5 separate regions of the Homo sapiens genome follow, and regions 1, 2, 3 and 4 are each linked to region 5. The links are contacts of gene promoters, found by promoter capture Hi-C in blood cells and fetal thymus (Javierre and others, 2016). All regions are on one chromosome and are shown on one strand. Each heading gives the region's core, a stretch centred on a gene start or on the middle of the fragment in contact. The rest is flanking DNA. Distances are from core to core; before and after follow the strand shown.

Region 1 (2,700 bases), core at 44-2,543, 290 kb before region 5:
GGCTGCCGTCTGGGGAGAACTTTCTGCTATTTCCTCCAATGGATCTGTAGGAAGGGGCAAGAAAATACAGAAATGAGTCCTGCTCCTGACCAAGAATCCTCATGACAAAGTTAGACAATTTGATGACAGAATTCCCAGATGGTGACATGCAATGGTTTTGCAGAGTCAAGAGTTTCTCTTTGGGACAATAATTTGGCCCATAGAAACCATGATCACATTCTGAATAAAAGTAGAGATGACAAGGCCTAACAAAATATTTTTCTAATCACCGAATTAGTCATATGAACAATGACACTTTGAAAAGTAAATCACATTTACCTATATATTAAGTTAGACCATTTTTATGTGAAGTTGTGACTGCTTAGGAAAGTGGGACATACGGTCACATCGCCCTGACATGCTGTGGGTGTTATTTAATTTCATTATGGATATTGTTTAACAAACATAAAAGTAAAAAGAACAGTGCATCCATCATCTAAGTTCAACAACATCAACATTTTGCCCATTCCGTAGAAACGTAAAAATTAAATGTCAATGACCCTGAAGCCTTCTTTGTCTGAGGGTTTTATATTTTTAAACTACAGAATCTTTGCTCTATAGAAATCTTTCATCAAAATCCATGATGTAAAGCTATCTGGGAGCTGTCAGTGAAGTAGAATCTCCTCTTCTCTCCTTAATTTGGATGAACTCATTGGCCTTTTCTTGGGTTCAACCAAGAGAATACGAAAAAACTTCCAGTCTTATTATTTTTCTCAGTGGATCTTCATGGATCTCTAAAACCGGTGGCCTTGACTGCAGACAATCTACACAGAGCCTGACTAGCACTGAGGACCCCTTACCTCTCTCTGGGATAAGCAGCTTGCACGGCAAGGCCAAGGGCGTGATGGAATGCTGGCACACCAAGGCCGTCAGGCTCCCTGCAAAGTGGACAGACAGCAAACAAGAGTCAACAACTGCTGTAGATGTTGTGTGCTCAGCCAATTTATCAGCTGGAATGAAACGGATGCAAAGGCTGAGCCCTTATCTTTTTAGCAACTGGTATGTTAGATTAGTGTGCAGCTTTGTGTAAAACTTCAAAGAAGTATAAAGTTCCACAAGATAGTTGAGAGGTAAGTAAATGGAACTGTTTATCATTCTTATCATAGACACATCATTACCAAATTATATAAAGACTAAAGCATACAGTTTGTTGGATCTTGAATCAGGAGGGTTGACATCAAGCCAACTCCAACTTCAACCATATATATTACCCCTGCACAATGCTTCTTAACAAAGCTCTAATAACAATGATGCCTAAGGCTGCACTGTGCTTTGTGTGGATTGCTCAAGTCATCTTTCCAACAAGCTCGTGAGGTAGGGAAGGCTCCCAATTTGCAGGGAAGGGAGGGTGCTCTGTTGGGAGCTCTATGTTGTTCCTTGTGCTGTGGGATAGGGTCATGCTGGAGCTCCAACCTTCTCAGGACTTACCTGCCTGCCAACTAGGATAGAATCTTATTGACGTCTGTAATTCCTACGTCTGATATGGTGCTTTTCATTTGTTTGGTTTTGACAGAGCTTTTAAGAACAACTTCAAATCTAGTTTATCTTAAAGATAATAATGCAGATCAGCAGGATTTCAGAACTGGGGACTGAAATATGAGTAAACCACCATAAGAGTGATAGTCCCAAATCTCAGGTTGGTGAGCAGAGGGAATCCAGGCCTCATGAGTTCAGAACATTGACAGCAACCTCTCAAGCAACTCACCGAAATATGGTTCATTCGAGCACCCTTTCAACCGCACTCCCTTCGGGGTACACTCGATCAAAAAGTGCCGGACGAGTTCATTGGCCAAATCTCCAGCTGTGGCAAGAAATTTAAAGAAAGAAGAATTTTTTGAAAATGGGAGCATGGGAGAATTCAATAGAGAGAACATAAAAGCCAGGAGCTACAGTTGAAAAGGCTCTTCTCTGAATACGAGTCCAGTCACTGCAAAAGAGGCTGCCAAGAACCATCTTCGTCCTAGGAATGGTAGCCGGGCTGCAGGACAGCTGGATGAGCACAGGCTAGGCCAGATACAGGGCGGGAACCCTTGCAATGACAGTGTGGGGGCTGGAGAGGTCCCTTGGGAGAGGCCCTCAAACATTGTGCAAGAATCCCCAACGAAGGGAATGAGCTTGCAGCTAAGAAAGAGGATCATGAATCTCCAGCTGAATCCTCTCCCAAAGAGGAGAGGTGAGAAAGGCTCAGACACAAAATGATACCTATAATGAATCACTGAAAAGAGCTGGAAGGAGGTCAGTCTTCTGGGTGGGATTTAACCAGGAGCCTGGATCTTTAAAACCTTCCAGAAAGCAAGCACTCAGCTGCACGGGAGCAGCACTCTACCACATTGCTATTAACAGTAAACAGTGCATCTGCTTTAGGCCAGCCCATGAGTCCAAAGAGAAAACACATCATAAAAAGCCACTGAATGGCAAAACTATCTGAGAGTGGAAAAGTACAAACAGCACAACCAAAAGAACAAGAAGTCACTGCCCTATGCTAATGAGTCCAACAGACCTTCACAGTGTGCTGTATTTCTGGGATCCAGTGCTTCCTTCATCACCCTCCATTGGGGCATGTCTGCCTAAACTTCTAATATTTCTGGTGTTGGAAACCTCCTGGCAGCAAGATCCACTGGAGTTGGGCTTGGTCCCCAGTGCCTTGCCCACAGTAGGCTT
Region 2 (2,700 bases), core at 27-2,526, 260 kb after region 5:
TATTTTTTGAAACAGTGCACCCTTTCCTGTGGTTTGTAAGACCTCTAGTCTTCCCTAGAAATCCCTCCTCAGTACCTCTCCCGAGGTCATGACACGATCTCAGGTGCTACAGTTTCAAAATAAGCCTGGATATCGAGTTGGGAGGCCCCTGCCTTGTTCTTCTCTTGAGAGTTGGCATGACTGGTCTTGTAATTCTCTTGTATTCTTTTCTACCTGAATTTTAGGATCAGTTTTCCAAGTTCCACAAAACACTGTCCTGGAATTATGAATAGATTTAATTGGATTTAACCTCATTATGCCTTAGGTTTTCATTTGTAAAGGGGGTATATTAATAGAATTTCATTCACACTATTATTATTAATGTTATAGATTAATTTGGGAGAAATGACAAAGGAAAATCGGCTTTCTCATCCATGAACATAGCTCTTTATTTGGATCTCTTATGCATATCAGGGATAGTTCCTTCATGATGGTCTTGTATGTGGGGTTTGATGAATTCACTTCTAGGCACCCCACCATTTTTTACTGTGACAAAGAGGTTCTTGTTTTCAACTCCATGTTATAAATAGTTATTGCTGTTTTATAGAGATTATTTTGATGATTTTTTCTTAATCACAAATTCAGCAAGTTTCTTTAATGTTATTAGTGCTAATCATTAGAGTGAAGATGCTTCTTCATTTGCTATGTAGACAACCTCATCCTGTACGAAGAACCATCTCTTTCTCCCTTTTGGAAACTTATATTCCTGTTTTATTTCTTGCTTTATTGTTTTTAACCAGGATTTCTAGTACAATGATAAATAGCAGTGCTGACAGCAGACATCCCTTAGAAATCATCTAAAGCTTCACCACTAAATCTTCCTTTGTTAGGTTAAGAACATTCCTATGTGTATGCATTGCTTGTGAATATATACATGTATGTTTATCTGAAAGACAATTTAAATATACAGTTGGTAGACGAAGGGCTTATGGTGAGTAAGGACCACATAAGCTTTAAAAATGTGTTGTGTCCCCATCTATCCTACTGCACTGTGGCACCCCATCTTATTCATCCTCCCATCTAACTCTTTCTCATCCACACCCCAATCCTATTGCTTCCATAAAGTAACCATGGTTCCCTCGGGAAATGGAAGCGTGAGTTCCAAGGGCAGAGGGAGTCTCCCTCTCTGAGGGATTTGTGTCACACGCACTTCGAATTGCACATGGCTCTGCCGGGCTCAATTTCTGCCCCTGCAGACCTCACCTCCACAGCTCACCGCGGCACCCCTGCTCCACTGGGCCCAGTGCTAGACTATTTCCTCCTCCTCCACCGCATCCTTCTTCCCACCCCATCTTCATCCTCCACCAGCTTCTCTGGGACTGTTGTCTTCAGCCCCAAGCTCAGAAGAGTACAACTCATTCTCAGAGTCTCAAAGATCCACTCAGAGACAGAACATATCTCCCCGGGCTGCTTTCCACAGTGGAGACAGAAGGAGAAGGGATTGGAGCAGCTGCAGAAGGTGAAGGGGTCTGCTCTTCACCCTGACAGATGTGCAGGCCAAGGGAGGGCAGTGGAAAGGGCGGGCAAGCTTTGCCTCAGCAATGAGATGAGGCTGCTGTGACAGGTGACAGACGGGGCAGCCAAATCACCAAATCCTCACTTCTGATGTTGACACTGCTTAGACACCATCAAAGAGTACCCCCAGATGCTCGAGCTACCTTTGAGGTCAACCTGGCCGGAGCTCGGAAGCCAGTGTCAATGACGACCGCATATAGCTGATGGCCCGGCAGGGAAGCTTCTTGCAGAAAGATGTAACCAGCTTTCTTTTTTTCATGATGATCTACTTGTCTACTTTTAGCGACCAAAAATCCATAAAGAATCACAGAACCCATAATAAAAATACTGGGAAGCAAGTTTTCTGGGTGGCTATAAACAAAAGGAGAGATATAAAGAAAATTGCTCATGAAAATAGACATATAGGAAAAGACTGATTGCCACCCCTAGCCCCTTACACACAAAAGTCCCTGCTGGGCTTCACTGATACATTTTTACACTTGCTGGAAGCTGAGTTAGAAGGGCTTTGAAGGCAGGGAGCTGGCCTGTGGTCCAGTGAGCAGCACCCCACAAGCATGGACTCCAGAACCAAAGAAACCTTGTAATGGACCAGCCTCTGTGCTAGGTGGCTGTGCCATGCTGGGTCTGAGGAACTTTCATTGTGAACTATGGCTAAGAATGCCAGTCTCGCTGCTATTGTAAAGATTAAGCAATACAAATATACAAAATTCTTGAAACATGCAGGTGCCATTATGTTCCTCCCTCTCTCCCTCTCCTGCTAGCAGAACAAGGCTAGGAGGCATTGGCAATGTTTTGGAGACCCTGCCTGTGCCTCCCACCGCCCCTGTGGATGGTGCTGCTTGTTCCCTACCTGTAGCCTCTACCTACCTGTTCCCAGGCACCAACACTGGCTGGGGTGAGATCACTGAATGCCCACAGTTCCGTAGAATGACATTCATATCAAGCTGCTGTGCAGGGACTCTAACCTAACTGGAGTCTTACAGATTTGTGATGGGATCTCAGAGGGTGGGCACCAGGGTCTATGTCACACGGGGATGTTGCCCGCCCCATCCCCTAGCATTCTGCTCTTTGATTTAATCTGAGGATTGGGCTCTGCTCTTGGTTTCTCACCTGCCCTCTTTTTTCCCACCAAGATAGAGCCTGTTC
Region 3 (2,700 bases), core at 128-2,627, 320 kb before region 5:
ACACCTAAGAGGGAGATTGCTGCAACATACATGGTAAATGTAAGTTTTACTTTACAGGGAAATTTTCAAACTGTTTTCTTTTTTTTGTTTTGTTTTTTTGAGACGGAGTCTTGCTCTGTCGCCCAGGCTGGAGTGCAGTGGTGCAATCTTAGCTCATTGCAACCTCCGCCTCCCGAGTTCAAGCGATTCTCCTGCCTCAGCCTCCCAAGTAGCTGGGACTACAGGCAGGTGCCACCAGGCCCAGCTAATTTTGTATTTTTAGTAGAGATGGGGTTTCACCATGTTGGCCAGGCTGGTCTCAAACTCCTGACCTCGTGATCCAACTGCCTCAGCCTCCCAAAGTGCTGGGATTACAGGCGTGAGCCACCGCACCCGGCCCCTTCAAACTGTTTTCTAAGCAGTTGACCCATTCTGTATCTCCACCAGCAAGCGTAAGAGTTCCAGTTTCTCTGCCTCTGCCAGAACTTGATAATGTCCATTTTTGGTTTTGTTTAGCTTTGCCTTGTTTTTGAACTAAGGGAGGTGGAATGAGAGCTCACTGTGCTTTTAACCGGCATATCCCTAGTGTCTCATGCTGTTACATTCATGTGCTGCCTTACCATCTGTGTATCTTCTTCCAGAAAGTATCTGTTCAAATCTTTTCCTTTTTAATTCAACCCTCACTTTTACTTGTAACTGTGTGAACTTGCCACATGCCTTTCCCTGCTTTGCTTTGGGTAACTAGAGGGAAATAAACCCATTGAAGACACTAAGTATGTATGAGACACACCCAGTCATGTTTGGCCATATGCCAGAAGGACTAGTAACTTTGCCATCTTACCCAGGGTGGCAAGTAGACATCCTTCAGCTTCACCCACACCTCAGGCAGCTGTCAGTATTTCATTCCAGGAGTCTTCTTCTTTGCTTTCAACTGGGCCATCATAGAGCGGCCAAGCTCTCCCAACATGCCCCCCGTGCACTCCAAATCTTGGGAGAGGGGTTGGAGACAGACTTTGGCTGCCCTAAGAAGACCCCAGGTTCCTGTTGCCCCTGAAGCTCTTCCTCATGACCAGCCTCGCCCACAGTGAATCTCAGGCTGTATGGGCTTAGGAGAGTTGCTCCAAGATTTAGGAAACCCCCACCTCAGGGCCCTGACTTTCCAGGCATGTCTCTCACTATTGAAGCTACATAGAGGATACTCAATAGAGAAAATCAATGGTTTTGGTGTAAAATAGTTATACCCTAGAAGTTAGCATTATAAAGCTTAGAGAAAAGTCACTCCTATAAATACCCTTGTAAGGAAGCTCCTCTGAGACATTCCTACAGCACTGGGCAGCCAGGAATGACACTGGCCAGACTGGAGTCCCTGCCTAAGATGCTACTTCTGGTAGCCAGGATGCAAAAGGGGGTTACTTAGAGAAAACCGTGGATGAACATCACTGTGAATCACCAAAGAAAGGAGAGAAATTGAAACTTCTGTATAAGACTGCAAAGAGGAGAGAAGCAAGGAGGTGTTTGCTTCTTACGCCCTTGGGAAGCTTGTCTAGTACCCAGGTAGATGTTTCCTATTTTGAGTTCCTATCATACTTTTCTCTCCCCTTCCTTCCTCCCTTCCTTCTTCCTTTTTCTTTTCTTTTCTTTCTCTCTCTTTCTTTCTTCTTTCTCTCTTTCTCTTTCGCCCCCTCTCTCCCTCTCACCTTCTCTATCTCTTTTTCTCTCTCTCTCCCTCTTTTTCTCTCTCTCTCCCTCTCTCTTTCTCCCTCCCTCTCTCTTTCTTTCTCTGTCTCTCTCTTTCTTAGAGATGGAGTTTCACTCTGTTACCCAGGCTGGACTCCTGAATAGCTGAGAGAACAGGCATGCACCACTGTGCTGAGCTTATAATACTTTTCAATAGCTCTTCAGAAGCCAAAAAAAAAAAAAAATGAGAGAGAGGGAGAGAGAATAACACATGGCAATGGCACATACACAGACACAAACATGTAAATATAGTTTTTACATAAACTAACACCCACCAGAGTGGCTTCCCCCAACTCATACTCCTTCCCTGGCTTTAGGTTGTCAAAGATGATCATATCTGATGCCTGATAACAAAAAAATGTTGATAAATATGGTAGTGATAATGGTGATAGTGATGGTGATGTTGAGGATGGTGGTGATAATGATGGTGATGATGGTGATGATGATGATGGTGGTGGTAATGATGATGACAGCGATGATGATGATGGTAATGAAGAGATGATAAAGTGATGATTTTTTCAGTAATGGTGATGATGATGATGATGATGGTGATGATGTGATGACCATGATGATGATGATGGTAATGGTGATGATGACAGTGATGAGGATATGGTAATGGTGATAATGATGATGGTGGAGATGGTGATAATGGTGATGATGATGATGGTAATGGGGATAATGATGATGGTGATGTTGATTGTGATAATGGTGAAGATGATGATGATGGTGATGATGAAGATATAGCACAATCTATGGAAAGTTCACTATGTCCTTGGCTTTGTACTAGTTCTTCTTACACATAATTTCATTCCATGTTCACAGCAACCCTTTTCAAAAATGGAGTCCCAGGAGCATGATCACACAGCGTGGACTGACCAGCCTGACTCTCACCCACAAACAGAGAAGGAGGATCATCAGTGCACAGCTCTAAAACACACTGTCACGAAGAACTCTGTCAATCGGAGAGGTTATTTCTTTTAAAAC
Region 4 (2,700 bases), core at 39-2,538, 320 kb after region 5:
TTTAACTCGCATATTTTCACCACTTTTTCCAGCCAAAATGCACCAAGCACATGCTGAGAATCAAAGTGCCAGGCAGTCACCGTGAGTGCCTCTTGGATGCCCTGCCCTCTGACTGTCGTCTCCTTTCCTTTCTGGGTGATTGGCCCCTAAATGGCAGGGCCACACATTCTCCTGACATCCCGGCACCAGCACAGGGCTTATTCAAATTAGGTACACAGGAAGGTTTTGTTATACACATTGGAAGGAGCTTTTCATCAATTGCTTTGACTGCATTTGAACATAATTTGTTCTCTTTGGGGGAATTAAACATTTCTCTTAAAATCCAATGCAGATTTTTTTTTTTTTAAACAACCTCCCTTTTCCTGGATCGAACAGGTGTTGAATTCCAAATGCTGAGCTCTTGCTCCAGGGCGATGAGAAGCATGGGTTTCATTGGGCCAGTAGAGCAGTAAGTCAGCCAGCTGACCTTGGCAAGGGCAGTGTAGTTCCCATACTCCAAGGTGTGGCTCGGGAGGATGAGGGTCTGTCTGTGAGTGTCCACAGCAGCAGGGAGGGAGACAGGGAGCCCTTCAGAGTCCATCAAGTTCCAGGTGTAAGAAAGACCTTGGGAAATATCACAGAAGACTGCAGCTTCAAACGTCACTCCCAGCCTCACAGGCTGAGACCTCCATATCTAAGTATCAAGAAGAGAAGATGTCTCATTAAAATGTCCATCACATCTAATGTACTGGTAAATTACTAGAAACTTAGTCTTAACTGTAGATCTCCCATTATTTGTTTGCATAGTGACAGAATGGTATTCTTAGGTCTGGGCTTTAGACAACACCAGAATAAACACTACATCTATTTTATAGACAAAAATAAAAGGTTAAAAAAAAACCAACTAAAATAATAAGTAAATATTTATATACTCATGAGAAAAAACTTCCTATGCATAAAATTAATGGAAAAATAGCAAAGATATCTGATATTTGATTACATAAAAAATTTAAGCTTCCAAACGTCAAAAATATAAATGTTATGCTTCTGGGTTTTGGCACCTATGTGTATATATAAATTTTTTAAATCAATGAATATAATAAGAAAATCATTTGCAGTATACACAACAGATGTTTGCTTTCCCTATTTTTTTCTTCACTGAAATATTCTTAAGTCATTCTCAGAAATCATGACATTTAATCCCTAAATACTAAATATACATCTCTAAAAACTAAGGGAATTTTCCTACATCAACACAACACTACTATCTCACCTTAAAAATTAACAATAAGTTCTTAGTATAATTTAAACCTAGTTTATAATAAAATTTCCCTTATTGTCTCCAAAACATACCCTTGTGCAATTGTTTGATTTGAGATGCACAAAAGTTCTTTTGCTAAAAAAAAAAAAGGAGAGAGGAGAAAAAAATTTTCTTATCAACTAGAACTATGAGGTTTCCTAAACTATAGTTTGGTCAGGAAAATAAGAATAAATGCTTAATTCTTTCCCTTAATTACCAACATTCAGAGTAAGAAGCTGGGGCACTAGTTACTTCCAAAGGTGACCAATATGTTACTTGTGTCTGCCTGCTTGGTGGGAACAGCAGAAGCTTCTCTTTCTCTTTCAGCATAATTATTTTTAAAATATTAGCATTATTCATTCAATTGTAGATGTTACTTTTTAGATGCTCCAAGTAGCCCATCAGGGGCCTGGGGCACTCTCCTTGGCCTGGCTCTGGCAACCTTCTGGTATGACCCTGGTAGTCTTTTAAAGTGATGGGTTTGTTGCACTATTCTTTCTACTGTTATTTATGCTTTAAAATTTCCATAACAAAGAATTTTAAATGTTAATAGTAGCTGATACATATACAAAAAGCATATTTGCTCACTTTAATAAGCCAATGAGGATGAGGATATGGGGGGGAATATTAGTGTCTACCCATCCACACCCCTTACTCCTCCCAGCCACTCTGTCTTTCTGAAGCCCCTCCACACCCCCTACTTTGGGCTGGAGCCAGATGCCACCTCAAGCATGGAGGAGCAAGCCAGGCTAGGGGGCCTCAGGATAGAGTCTCTGCCTGGCCAGAGCGCCTCCACCCTGCAGATGCTGGGTGCAGGGTCTCCCCCAGAGGGATTTTTTTTTTCCTGAAGGTTCCCTAAAAATTGGAAAGGGAAGGCCAGGCACGGTGACGCAAGCCTGTAATCCCAGCACTTTGGGAGGCCAAGGTGGGCGGATCACGAGGTCAGGAGATCAAGACCATCCTGGCTAACACGGTGAAACCCTGTTTTTACTAAAAATACAAAAAATTAGCCAGGTGTGGTGGCGGACGCCTGTAGTCCCAGCTACTCTGGAGGCTGAGGCAGGAGAATGGTGTGAACCCGGGAGGCGGAGCTTGCAGTGAGCCCAGATTGCACCACTGCACTCCCTCCTAGGCAACAGAGCGAGACTCCATCCCAAAAAAAAAAAAAATCGGAAAGGGAAAAACCTGGAGGCAGCTGAGAAATGGGATTTTAAGAAATCTTGGTGCTCATTATAAATGAAAGTTTACTTTTGACATTCTTTAGGTGACTTTAGTTATAATTAAAATTACTTTCCAATTACTTTTTATTGTTTCTATTCTGAATATGATATCATTCTAAGATTTGTCACAAAACTGCCCAGATTTATATGGGTTACAGCAAATTTTAATACTAGGATGCCAATTTTTAGCTCATTCATGAT
Region 5 (2,700 bases), core at 63-2,562:
AAAATCTAAAATGTCAAAGGGTTGGTTAGTTCAGAAGGGCCATGCAATATTAATACAATGAGTTCTGCATTCATACTTTTCAGTATATTTTCAGAGTCCTCCATGATCATGCATTCAAATAGTGAAAAAAATGGGGGGAAAGCCAACCCGGAAGATCAAAGTGTGTGAATGCGCCCCAAGGAAGCCTGGGGGCTTCCCAGGGGGTTGTGACCACCCTCAGTAGTGCTCTCTGCTGGCCCCACACCCTGATGGCGCTTTGAGTTTTTCAACCACGCTGGAGTTCGGGTCATCTGCTGACACTGTCTGGAGAATGCCTGAGGAACGCCTGAATCTCTTCCCGCCACAGACACTCAAATCACTCCAAGCAAAGGACCCGGGACTCACATGTCAGGCCGCTGCACAGCACCGACACAGAGACCCCTGGGCCGTCCGGGACCCTCCCTCCTCCTGCTTGTCAGCGACAGCTCCCGCGTGCCAGGAGGCACATGCCACACAGCTGGCCCCCAGCCTGGGACAGCACCCCCCACCCCAGAATATCCCCCCACCCCGAGGTCCCGTCCTTCAGGGAAAAAAAGGAAGCGCGTAAAGACCCCCTGCCTCCCACCCACCAAAGGGAAAGGGAAAGAGACGCACTGGAGAGCTTGCCTAGAAAAAGTAGGAGAAGGGTCTTGAGCCTGCCCATTGAAGCCCCTAGCTGCGCTCTCCACCTGGAGTCTCGAGACGGAGTCCTAGGGAGCAAAGTCCGCTCGGTCCCGACAGCGACTGCGACATAGCTGCTCCGGTCTCTGCCCTCAGTCCAGGGCGCCCGGGCGCCACGGGTCCCACTCGAGTGGTCCTGCGCCCCAGCCAGTCCCCAAACCCAGCCAGTCAGCGCCCCCGTCCCCGGACTCCGGCGAAGCTGGCCCGCGCCCCAGCCCCTGTCCTGGGACTCCTGCCGAGCCCCCGCCCCCCACGCGCCGCAAACCCCGTACCCGCGCGCACCAAACCCCTTGCCCGTGCGCCCCCAACCGGGTCCCCGCGCTCCCTAACCTGGGTTCTCCCGTGACCCCATCCCCGCGCCCTGAGCTCCCGTACCCCGCGCTCCCCGAACTCTGTCTCCGCGCTCCCCGAACTCAGTCCCCGCGCCCCAGCTCCAGATCTCTGTGCTCCCCAAGCCTCGTTCCTGCGCCCGGAGCGCGAAAGCCCGCGCCGGGCCCGAAACAAAGAGGACCGCGGCGCGTGGCCGCGTTTCCTCCTTCCCCGGCCCCAGTACCTGGGGGAGCCTGAGGCGCGGTCCGGCAGGGCGATGGCCGCAACGAGGCTGGGCTCCGAGTAGCGCGCGGGCGGGCCCGTCCTCCTGGCTGGCTGCCGGCGCCCGCGGCAGGGCCCCCTCGAGGCGGCGCGGGCAATCGCCACGGCCGGCCCCCGCGCCCGCGCCCCGAGCCTGGCGGGTCACCTGGCCTCATCACCCTAACAATGCAGCGCGCCTCCAGGCGCCCTTCACCGGGGTCCCCCGCCCTGCCGAGGTGCGCCCTGGGACCTCCCTTCGCTGGCCGCAGAGAGGACCTGGAATTATCAGACCCATTGAGCAGCCCAGGCTCCAAGTGGTCTGGAGGCTTGCAGGTTCCGCCGGGCCGGTGTTAGAGTACCTGGGGAGGCGGGTTCGGATCCTGGTTCCTGCACAACCAGTTCATTCTTTCATTCAGCGCCTGTGATTAAGGTGCTCTCCGGGAGCAAGACCTACCCTCCCTCCTGTAGCTCATAGCCTAGTGGGAGTCGCGCATACATAAAGGAGCACAGCCGCTCCGGAAAGCCTAGGGTGCCGTAGAAGCCCCTGAAATACCCAGCTAATGAAGGGAGGAGGTCAGGGAAGTCTTTAGAAGTCACATGACTTCTTAAAATGCGCCGGGACAAATGAGCAGAATTTAGGCAAGCCAGGGGAAACCAGAAAAACGATCCCGAGCAGAGAGATTCTCAGAGGAGGAAAGGCCTATAGGTTGTCCATCCTGACTGTCCATCCCTGAGATTCAGATGGCCCTGAACTCAGTCGCTTAGCCTCAGTTTCCCCATTTGTGAGATCGGGGGAATGGAAAAAGTTTGCAGAAATCAGAAGTGCTCTTCCTCCAGGGAGGTCACAAGAGAAATTTCATCAGCGGTTTGTCCTGTGGTCCTTTCCAGGAAAACATCCTCCCCGCCAGCCTCTCACAGAAGAGACCTAGATTTCATCTGCCACGTGGAGCAGGCGGTCTCAGAATCCCACCCGGAGCAGGGTCCAGGGCAAGTCTTGGAGGACAGTCACCAAGAACTGCTTTGGATTCGGGAACAGAGCTGCCTAACCCATCCGCAGCCCTGGGGTCCTGCCCTGTTCCTCTGGCCCCTTCAGGGCAGCGGGGGAAGCAGGGAAAACAGCCTGTCAGAGATGGCAGAGAAACCGAGCAAGAATAATTATCCTGGAAAAGACTTTCAGAAGTAACCACCAGAAACTTCGAGTCCCCAGATCCAAACAGCTGAGAATGTGGGGCCTGAGCCACGCTCTGACTCCACTCCCACCACATGAGGAGAAACAAGAGCTGCTTTTCTGGAAGACTTGAACAACCCCTGCTGTGCTCTGGAAGGTAGTGTCATTTCTCATCCCCAGACTGATCTGGGTATTTATTCCCAGGCAAAGGCTTCATGAGCACCATGCCCCAGCCCCTAGAGATGAGGCAGGCATTTTTCCTA

What was found. Contacts are between HindIII fragments. The CHiCAGO score rates a contact against its expected background, and 5 or more counts as called.
Region 1: a fragment that was not itself captured here is called in contact with the fragment with the promoter of TNS3 in region 5 in 6 of 17 cell types (erythroblasts, M2 macrophages, M0 macrophages and 3 more); the score reaches 12.5 in erythroblasts.
Region 2: a fragment that was not itself captured here is called in contact with the fragment with the promoter of TNS3 in region 5 in 1 of 17 cell types (total B cells); the score reaches 6.6 in total B cells.
Region 3: a fragment that was not itself captured here is called in contact with the fragment with the promoter of TNS3 in region 5 in 3 of 17 cell types (erythroblasts, total B cells and megakaryocytes); the score reaches 11.4 in erythroblasts.
Region 4: a fragment that was not itself captured here is called in contact with the fragment with the promoter of TNS3 in region 5 in 1 of 17 cell types (total B cells); the score reaches 5.3 in total B cells.

What each region holds. Positions count from the first base shown.
Region 1 is chr7:47,291,989-47,294,688 of GRCh38, forward strand. TNS3 (tensin 3) reads right to left here. Exons shown (of 31, transcript NM_022748.12): 25 at 1,745-1,840; 26 at 840-917; 27 at 1-44. Among named protein-coding and RNA genes, the nearest start is that of SNORD151, 170 kb to the right of the region's middle. RefSeq lists an enhancer at 1,075-2,274. The HindIII fragment of the contact is 2,934 bases long and covers 1-2,700 here.
Region 2 is chr7:47,841,265-47,843,964 of GRCh38, forward strand. It overlaps PKD1L1 (polycystin 1 like 1, transient receptor potential channel interacting), which reads right to left. Exons shown (of 57, transcript NM_138295.5): 34 at 1,698-1,905. Among named protein-coding and RNA genes, the nearest start is that of PKD1L1-AS1, 47 kb to the left of the region's middle. The HindIII fragment of the contact is 577 bases long and covers 989-1,565 here.
Region 3 is chr7:47,258,207-47,260,906 of GRCh38, forward strand. No RefSeq gene overlaps it. Among named protein-coding and RNA genes, the nearest start is that of SNORD151, 210 kb to the right of the region's middle. The HindIII fragment of the contact is 275 bases long and covers 1,241-1,515 here.
Region 4 is chr7:47,897,522-47,900,221 of GRCh38, forward strand. It overlaps PKD1L1 (polycystin 1 like 1, transient receptor potential channel interacting), which reads right to left. Exons shown (of 57, transcript NM_138295.5): 14 at 467-673. Among named protein-coding and RNA genes, the nearest start is that of PKD1L1, 50 kb to the right of the region's middle. RefSeq lists an enhancer at 1-222. The HindIII fragment of the contact is 595 bases long and covers 992-1,586 here.
Region 5 is chr7:47,580,799-47,583,498 of GRCh38, forward strand. TNS3 (tensin 3) reads right to left here and starts at 1,313. Exons shown (of 31, transcript NM_022748.12): 1 at 1,253-1,313. RefSeq lists enhancers at 649-1,186, 1,187-1,724. The HindIII fragment of the contact is 9,706 bases long and covers 1-2,700 here.